3 separate regions of the Homo sapiens genome follow, and all the other regions are linked to region 2. The links are contacts of gene promoters, found by promoter capture Hi-C in blood cells and fetal thymus (Javierre and others, 2016). All regions are on one chromosome and are shown on one strand. Each heading gives the region's core, a stretch centred on a gene start or on the middle of the fragment in contact. The rest is flanking DNA. Distances are from core to core; before and after follow the strand shown. Region 1 holds the start of RLIM (ring finger protein, LIM domain interacting). Region 2 holds the start of PIN4 (peptidylprolyl cis/trans isomerase, NIMA-interacting 4). Region 3 holds the start of IGBP1 (immunoglobulin binding protein 1).

Evidence for each region. The method cuts DNA at HindIII sites, captures the fragments that hold promoters and counts their contacts. A CHiCAGO score of 5 or more calls a contact.
Region 1: the fragment with the promoter of RLIM here is called in contact with the fragment with the promoter of PIN4 in region 2 in 1 of 17 cell types (total B cells); the score reaches 8.4 in total B cells.
Region 3: the fragment with the promoter of IGBP1 here is called in contact with the fragment with the promoter of PIN4 in region 2 in 1 of 17 cell types (total B cells); the score reaches 6.1 in total B cells.

The regions. Positions count from the first base shown.
Region 1 is chrX:74,613,370-74,616,084 of GRCh38, forward strand. RLIM (ring finger protein, LIM domain interacting) reads right to left here and starts at 1,255. Exons shown (of 4, transcript NM_016120.4): 1 at 1,053-1,255. RefSeq lists an enhancer at 860-1,179. The HindIII fragment of the contact is 9,843 bases long and covers 1-2,715 here.
Region 2 is chrX:72,180,397-72,183,102 of GRCh38, forward strand. It overlaps PIN4 (peptidylprolyl cis/trans isomerase, NIMA-interacting 4), which reads left to right and starts at 1,361. Exons shown (of 4, transcript NM_006223.4): 1 at 1,361-1,432. The coding sequence starts at 1,390. RefSeq lists an enhancer at 1,401-1,620. The HindIII fragment of the contact is 4,711 bases long and covers 1-1,379 here.
Region 3 is chrX:70,132,078-70,134,825 of GRCh38, forward strand. It overlaps IGBP1 (immunoglobulin binding protein 1), which reads left to right and starts at 1,370. Exons shown (of 7, transcript NM_001551.3): 1 at 1,370-1,463; 2 at 1,646-2,058; 3 at 2,446-2,739. The coding sequence starts at 1,871. RefSeq lists an enhancer at 1,789-2,248. The HindIII fragment of the contact is 12,060 bases long and covers 389-2,748 here.

The DNA.
Region 1 (2,715 bases), core at 5-2,504, 2.4 Mb after region 2:
CAACTGCTTCCTCTTGCCCCAAAATGAAAAAAAAAATGACCTCAATAACAAGACTGCTAGGCCTCAGATTCCCAGACTAACCTGTGGAATAAGTATGGTGAAACTGTCTAGGGAAGGAACGTGGCTGTCTCCTCCATCTTGAAATTAATCAGCATAAGGGAAAAAGGGACCGAGTATTCAGGAAGCAGAAGCCCAACCGGTTAATACTAGTTACTAAGCTATGGCATGCGTGGCAGGTACCGTCTGCAGAAGCAGAGACCCCCCTAGGCTTTTTTTTTTTTTTTTAATGGGGGAGGGATTGAGTTGTTGGTGGATTAAACACAAATTAACTTGAAAATTTGGCCCAATTCCATCCCTTATCCAGGAGAACACAACAAACACCTAACGGCTTTTCCCTCTCTTTTGCGGGGGGATCCTTCCAGTGATACCTGGCAAAGGATATGCCAGGGTTATTCGAGCAAGGGAGTAAACCACATTTGCCTCAGATCCTCAGGGAAGATGTCATCGCGGCCCCAGGGGGCGCCTAATTGGTAATACCCTGCAGAAGGGCTCAAAATGAGGTTTTGGAAATCTAAAGGCCCAAGAGTTGCCAGCATCTCACTTGGGGCAGCCTGATTTTTTACTTCCCTTTTCCCAAACCCAAGCCCGCCATGGAAAACGCGGGGAGGTCAGGGAAGCCTCCAGAGAACAGAGAAGAAAAAGCCTGAGACGTTCTAAGATTCTGACGCCTGAGGCCAAAACTCAAAAACTGCCTCCCCCGATTTCCTAAGGCTCCGGAGGGCCTGGGCTGCAGCTCGCGCGGCCACCGAGAGGAAGTACTACCCACCTCCTTCCCCTTCAAAGAGCCTGTCGACTATACCACTCAACTAAAATGGCAGCGGCGACTACGCCACGGAGCCCCCCGCAGCAACGGGCCTGGGGTCCGGAGGCGGCGCTGAGCCTCTGCCACGACGCGTCACTCGGGCCATTTTGAGAGAACGCGGCAGCCGCGGCTCCGCTGTCTTCCTCTCGCTCTACATCATTTCTCACAGGATTCCCAAGTCTTCACTTACTAGGTTTTAGGGTCAGGATCCGACTCGGTTGGTTCGGCCGCCGCCGCCGAGGCTGCTCCGCACCTCCCTGGCCGCCGCTCTCAAGCCCGCCTCCAATGAGTAGCTGGTTGAGACCCGCCTCTAGCCCAGCGCCTGCTCGGAGACGTTGCTCAGGCAGCCATTATCTTCCCCATTGTTACCAAGCAGCGACAGGAAACGACTGCCCACAACAGGAAGTGATGATGCCGCGTCCCGGCACCGCAGCCCCACTCCCAGCCTATTAGCCAATCCCAGTCGATTCCTCGAAAAGGCTCCGCGGGAGGAGGAGGGGGACGGCAGACGACGCGGCAAGGCGGGCGGCGGTTTGGAAAAGGAAAGCTGTTATGACGCCCACCATGTGACAGGCCCCACCCTCCTCCGCCATTTTGAATTGTGGCGAGAAATTTGCGTTCTGAGAATTGTGGGAACCTTCGCTTTCCCATTTTGAAAACTGAAGGACGTCACGGTCTGACTGCTTGAAGACATTTTCAGAGAGAGAGAAATGTGATATTAGTCTACCCTGACATCACATCAGTTCACACAATCCGTGCAGACCAGTTCAAAAAGTAGCCTGCGTTTTATTCAACATGTATTTACACAGTGCCAACTGCATGTCAAGCACCATTGTAGCTGCTTAGGAAATTAAAATAGACCAAAATTAAGAAAGAAAACAGGCCACGTTCGGTGGCTCACGCCTGTAATCCCAGCACTTTGGGAAGCCGAAGCGGGCGGATCACCTGAGGTCAGGAGTTCGAGACCAGCCTGGCCAACATGGTGAAACCCAGTCTCTACTAAAAATACGAAAATTAGCCGGGCGTGGTGGCGGGCGCCTGTAATCTCTGCTAATCGGGAGGCTGAGGCAGGAGAATAGCTGAACCCAGGAGGCGAAGATTGCAGTGAGCCGGGATCTCGCCACTGCACTCTAGCCTGGGTGACAGAGCAAGGCTGTGTCTCAAAAAAAAAAAAAAAAAAAAAAAGAAAACAGATCAAAATCCCAGTTCTCTTGAGTCTTTATAGGGGCCAGGGACAATAATTTAGAAAAAATCAAACATAAATACATATCATGTTAGTGATAAATGCCAAGGAGAAAAATCAAGGAAGGGGGACAGAAGAGTTCCTTGTAGGGACAAACGGATTCGTGATGTTTAAAAGACTGATAACTTTGAGGCATTAACTCTAAAGTATTCGAAAAAGGGCGGTGATTGTAAAAGGGTGGGAAAATCTGATAACGTTGGGATTTGTAAAAGGGCAGTTAAAGAAGGCCTTTCTTAGGTAGTAATGCCTGAAAGAATTGAGGGAACTCGCCACACAGCATGCCACTCCCATTGTCACAGTTAAAGGAAAACCTTACCCAAGTTTTTAGATTCTTTTCCTTTTCCCAATTTTTCTGTTTTCCAATAGCATGCCAGCTATGCTGGCTTTGTTACGGTTTTTCCAACAAAGCTAACTTCTTCCTACTTCAACTACTTTACCTTTGCTGGAATATTTTACTTTCATATCTTTGCTTTCATCATCCAAGCCTCGCAATTATTAACTTCCTAGAGAAGCCTTCCCTGACCACCCTACCTAAAATAACTTCTTCCTGAAGGCGGAAAAAGGTCTGAGGAAAAAAAAAAAAAGAAAAAAGTAATAACGACTTCTCCCA
Region 2 (2,706 bases), core at 111-2,610:
ATCCAAAAACTAAACTCTGAGCTGGAAGACCTCTATATTCTGGCTGGTAGTGGCAAGCTAGGACAGCTCTCTCATGGACTGGAGGAAACGCCCTGACATATCATATACAAATTATTGATGGTGGGAGGGATTGTAAGGGGAGAAAAAGTGTGTGGGCACAAATTCAAAAATCATTTATCTTAGGCAAACATTATTAATATGAGCAAGCCATCATTTTATGTGCTTTACAGATATGAACTTGTTTAATTCTCTTAACACCTGATAGGATAATAGTAGGTACTATTATCATCAACTCCATTTCACAGATGATGAAACTGAGCCAAAGAGAGGTGAAGTAACTTCCTCAAGGTCATGGAGCTAGTAGACAGATGTGGAGCAGGGATTTGAAACTGGGCAATCTGGCTCCAGAATCCATGCTTTTACTACACTATGCTGCACCATTATGGAAATTTTGGAAAATACACAGAAACAAACACGATGACCTGTATGCACTAGCACCACTGGCCACATCTTGCTCTATAGCTTTCCTCTCCTTTATATTCATATAACATACAATACATTACATATACTTCTTTTACAAGGAATCATATTCTTTATCTTGGTCTTAAAAACATTTCCCCTATCTGTACACACAGCCTTACAATCGTTATTTTGAATGTTGTATAATATCTTCTTGTGTGGCTAAAACATTATTTAAGCAGTACCCGACTGAGGAGCACTCAGACTGCTTCCAATGTTTCTCCATGACTGAGCTCTGCAAGACGCAAAAAGGTGACAGGCTTTTTTAAAAACTACCTTTTGAACCTAATTAGCTACAACTGCAGAATAAAATTAACAAACGAAAAACTGCCAGGGAGGGCAGCCCTGTGTGTAGGAGGAGACAGCGGAAGTTGGCCGCCACCACAGTACTCCTGCTTCCCTTTGTCTGGCGGCCCCGCGGGATTGGCCAGAGCTGGCGCCGAGGGACTGCAGAGCCACCCACCCCCGTGGCTCCTACTGCGCACGCGTGAAAAAAGCCAGGTTGAGGGGAACGGGGGAGCTTCGGGCGTAGAGTGTGGGGAGTGGGGGATCTGGTGCAAATTAGGGTGCGTGAAAGAAGTCACAAAAAGCGCAGAGGCCAGGCTTCCCGCCCTAATCCGGCCTTTGTCTCCGCCCCTCTGCCTTTGTTTCGGCCCAAGCGTCTTATTGGTCAGACATCTTCAGCCCCATTGGTCCAAGAGCCAAAGGACGGGGTCTGCCCCAAGCTGTGCCTGCTTCCGGAGCCGCAATAAGAACGGTCAATTGAGATGCGGCTTTCAGGCATTTGTTTAGGACATGCCCATGGCGGGGCTTCTAAAGGGGCTTGTACGGCAACTGGAGCGGTTCAGCGTTCAACAACAAGCTTCCAAGATGCCGCCCAAAGGAAAAAGTGGTTCTGGAAAAGCGGGGAAAGGTAGAGCGGCCAGAGCGATCAAGGAGAATGGGGGCGGGTGAGGAGCGAAGGGAGGGAACAGACAGTCCATCTCCGGAGTCCGGGACGGACGCAGCAGGTAGCCAGTGGCCCCACAGTGCTGCCATCGATTACATCTGTAGGAATACATTGGGCTACGGTTCAGGGACCGTCCTAGTGGGTAATGGAATCTGATGGGGATAGTTCCTCGGAGGCGATGACTTAGGGCTGCTATTTCAAGGGGTTATTAGAGCTCTAAAATTGGGTCTTATCAAAAGCCAGCAATAGGAAGTACACATTGGTTATGGTCCTTAAAGTTCACTTTAATGCTTACAGAATGACATGCCCACCATCGGGGAAGGAATCATTCATCCATTGAACAGAAATGTGTCAGGCAGAGTGCTAAGCGCTGAGGATACACAAATAAGACAGAAGGCTGGGCGCGGTGGCTCACGCCTATAATCCCAGCACTTTGGGAGGCCGAGGGAGGATGGATCACGAGGTCAGGAGTTCGAGACCAGCTTGGCCAACATGGCGAAACCCCGTCTCTACTAAAAATACAAAAATTCGCCAGGCGTGGTGGTGGTGCGCGCCCGTAATCCCAGCTACTCGGGAGGCTGAGGCAGGAGAATCGCTTGAACTCGGGAGGCAGAGGTTGCAATGAACCGAGATCGCGCCACTGCACTCCAGCCTGGGCGACAGAGCGAGCCTCTGTCTCAAAAAAAAAAAAGAGATTTTGGCCTTAAGGAGCTCCCGAAGTAGTGAGGAAGATAAAGGCTTAGTGATCATAAAGCACTGTACTAAATGTAGTGTTGAGGGATGTGTATGGGATATAATAGAAATTGAGGGAAGTCCTTCATTTAGCTGGGGAACAGGGAACGGAAGACTTCCTGGAGATGAATTAGGCAGGTCAAGATGTGCATTGAGGGTAGGTTAAAGCATTCCTTACTTGGGGTCCAGCAGCAAAAGCACTGAGGTGAGAAACAGCATGATGTGTGCAGCGTAGTGTTGCTGGAGCAAAAACTCAAGGCAGAATGGCAAGTGGTGAGAATGAAAACAGAAACAAAGACGAGATCATGGAGAGTGCTATATATTCTGCTAAGAAGGACAGTTAAGGATCAGAAAGACCTGTAAGGAGATTGTTGTGGTAGTCTTGGTGAGAGATGATGGTGGACTGACCTAAGGGAGTGGCTGTGGGAACTGAGAAAAGAGAAAAGATTCTGTAAATATTAGGATGTGAAATAGTCAAGACTTGGTGATTTATTGGGTTGGGGAGG
Region 3 (2,748 bases), core at 120-2,619, 2.0 Mb before region 2:
GTGCCACAGCCTCCTCTCCCTCTTAGGAAGCACTGTTCTAGTTTGGGGCTTCAATCTGTCCCACATTAAAGGTCTTCATCTTTCTAAATCCTACCCAACTGAAGGTTAATGGAGTAGAAACAATTGAACGCAGAAGTCACTGACTTTGTCACAAACTGGCTGGACAAGTCCCTTAACCTTTCTGGTCTCAAGTTTTTCCTCCGATTTTGGGGGTTCCCTTTAAACTTTGACATTCTTCTATGTGACCGCATGTCATGTCTAAGAAGCCTTCTGAACTACTCCTAGCATGGGATGACTTGCCCTTTCTTGCTTTTCCAACAGCCTGTGCAATACAACATATCACCTATTTTATACTGTCCTATATTGCCCTCTAGTTGTTTTTTAATGAAGCTTTTTTTCTTCTCAACGATATGTAGTTTAAAATACTAGTTTAAAAGTTTATTTTCAGGGGTAGACAGTGTGCCTGCTACTTAAATCTCCTAGGACAATTCAGGCTGCGTCCTAAGGTAATCAGTATGTATTTATATTGCTTTGTTCAAAACAATGACGTCCCTTCTTTGAAGTCCTGAAATTATGTTTTCCATCAGTTCTGTCCAGTAGAAATATAATGGGAGCTACAAATATAGTTTTAAATTATCTGGCAGGCACATTTACAAAGTGAAAAGAAAGAAGTACAATTAATTCTAATAATATATTTAATCCAACATATCCAAAAGACTATCATTTCAACATGTAGTCCATGTAAAAAGTATTTACATTTTTCATTCTTTTTTTTTTAAATGTCTTTGAAATCTGGGGTGTTTTTTACACTTGCAGCACATCTCGATTCAAAATAGCCACTTTCAAGTGCTTAGTAACCACATGTAGCTAGTAACTACCTACTGAACAATGCTGTTCTGCATAAGTTGGCTGCTTTCCAAACTGATCACTTTTTTTTTTTATTCAGATAATGACTGATACTGAGTACTCAGGCTAGCCAGAGTGGTGCAAAGATGAGTCAAATTCATTCTGATAAGAGAGATTTGTAAGTCACTAGCAATTATACAGCGTGGTAGGTGCCATGATAGAGATGCATAGGAGAAACCCAGACTTGGCGGCTGAAGGGCACAGGGTGGAAGGCGGTAGAGAGACAAGGAAGGTTGCACAGAAATAACATTTGATGTAGGAACTAAGTGCACGAAGGGAAGCCGGCTGTGCGGTGACCGGAGTTGCAGGTTGCCAATCTTGCTGAGGGGGGCTCCACCGGACGCCGGCCTACGGGTCGTAGGCGTGTGTGGGGTGAAGGGGGAAGAGGACGGGAGAGGATTGGCTGGGAGGAACCCGGAGCTCCATCTGGTGGGTGGACGGAAACCGCAGGGGGGCGCTACTTGCACTTCGCGCTCAAGCGACCGGATCTTCAAACCGTGGGAGTGGTGCGGCGGCTAGAGTCCCTGGACTCCTCAACCTAGGGAGCTACTCGCGAGGTAAGGGGCGCGCCAGACTGGCTCCTAAAACGCACTCGCTCGTCCGCACTCCTCGCGCTCCGAATTCAGCCTCGCCTCACCCGGGCTTCAGAGCCCACAGAACTTCTCAGCCCCGTGTCGGCGACGAGGAGCTCATGGTAAAACAGCGCCTAGGGTTTTGCTTGTTTGTTTGCTTTTAACAGATGCCTACGACTTGTAACGGGCTGCCTGGTAAAATGAGTCTATGGAAACGGTTGCCAGGGCCGGCTAACAGCGGCTCCCGGAAGTCCTTTGATGCTTTGTTAACAGTGAAGCTACTGGACCAATGAGGTGCTTCTTCCGGTTTTGTCCGCGCTCGCCTAATTCTTCTTTATCAAGGTTGCCTTTGACCCCGGAAAAGAGATCTTCCGGGTTCCTCTCTCCCCAAGATGGCTGCTGAGGACGAGTTACAGCTGCCGCGGCTCCCCGAGCTGTTCGAAACTGGTAGACAGTTACTGGACGAAGTAGAAGTGGCGACTGAACCCGCCGGTTCCCGGATAGTCCAGGAGAAGGTGTTCAAGGGCTTGGACCTCCTTGAGAAGGCTGCCGAAATGTTATCGCAGCTCGACTTGTTCAGGTATGGGGGAAGATAGTAATAATGGCTGAGAACGAAGGTAATAATGGTTACCAAGGGTGGAGCCATTGCGCCTGAGTGGAGGGGACCTTTAGTGGTGAGAACGTTTCGTTCCTACTTACCACTGCGATCTTGTGTACATTGTTTACATTCCCCACCTCTCTTCCCAGATGGTTGATATCTTACGACTCTGCTTCCTAGCGTCTGCTGATTGCATAGGCATTGGGTGTGAGCCCTCAGCCACTTTCATTGAGTGAAACTGGCCGCTGTTCCCCGTGCCTCCTCCCTCTGGTCCACTCCCAGCCCAGCCTCCCACTCCGTCCCCCAGAAAGCAAGGGCCACAATTTGAATGCCTAGTCAGGCTTCACTGCCTCCTTTTTGCTCTTCCAGCCGAAATGAAGATTTGGAAGAGATTGCTTCCACCGACCTGAAGTACCTTTTGGTGCCAGCGTTTCAAGGAGCCCTCACCATGAAACAAGTCAACCCCAGCAAGCGTCTAGATCATTTGCAGCGGGCTCGAGAACACTTTATAAACTACTTAACTCAGTGCCATTGCTATCATGTGGCAGAGTTTGAGCTGCCCAAAACCATGAACAACTCTGCTGAAAATCACACTGCCAATTCCTCCATGGCTTATCCTAGTCTCGTTGCTATGGCATCTCAAAGACAGGCTAAAATACAGAGGTGGGTCAA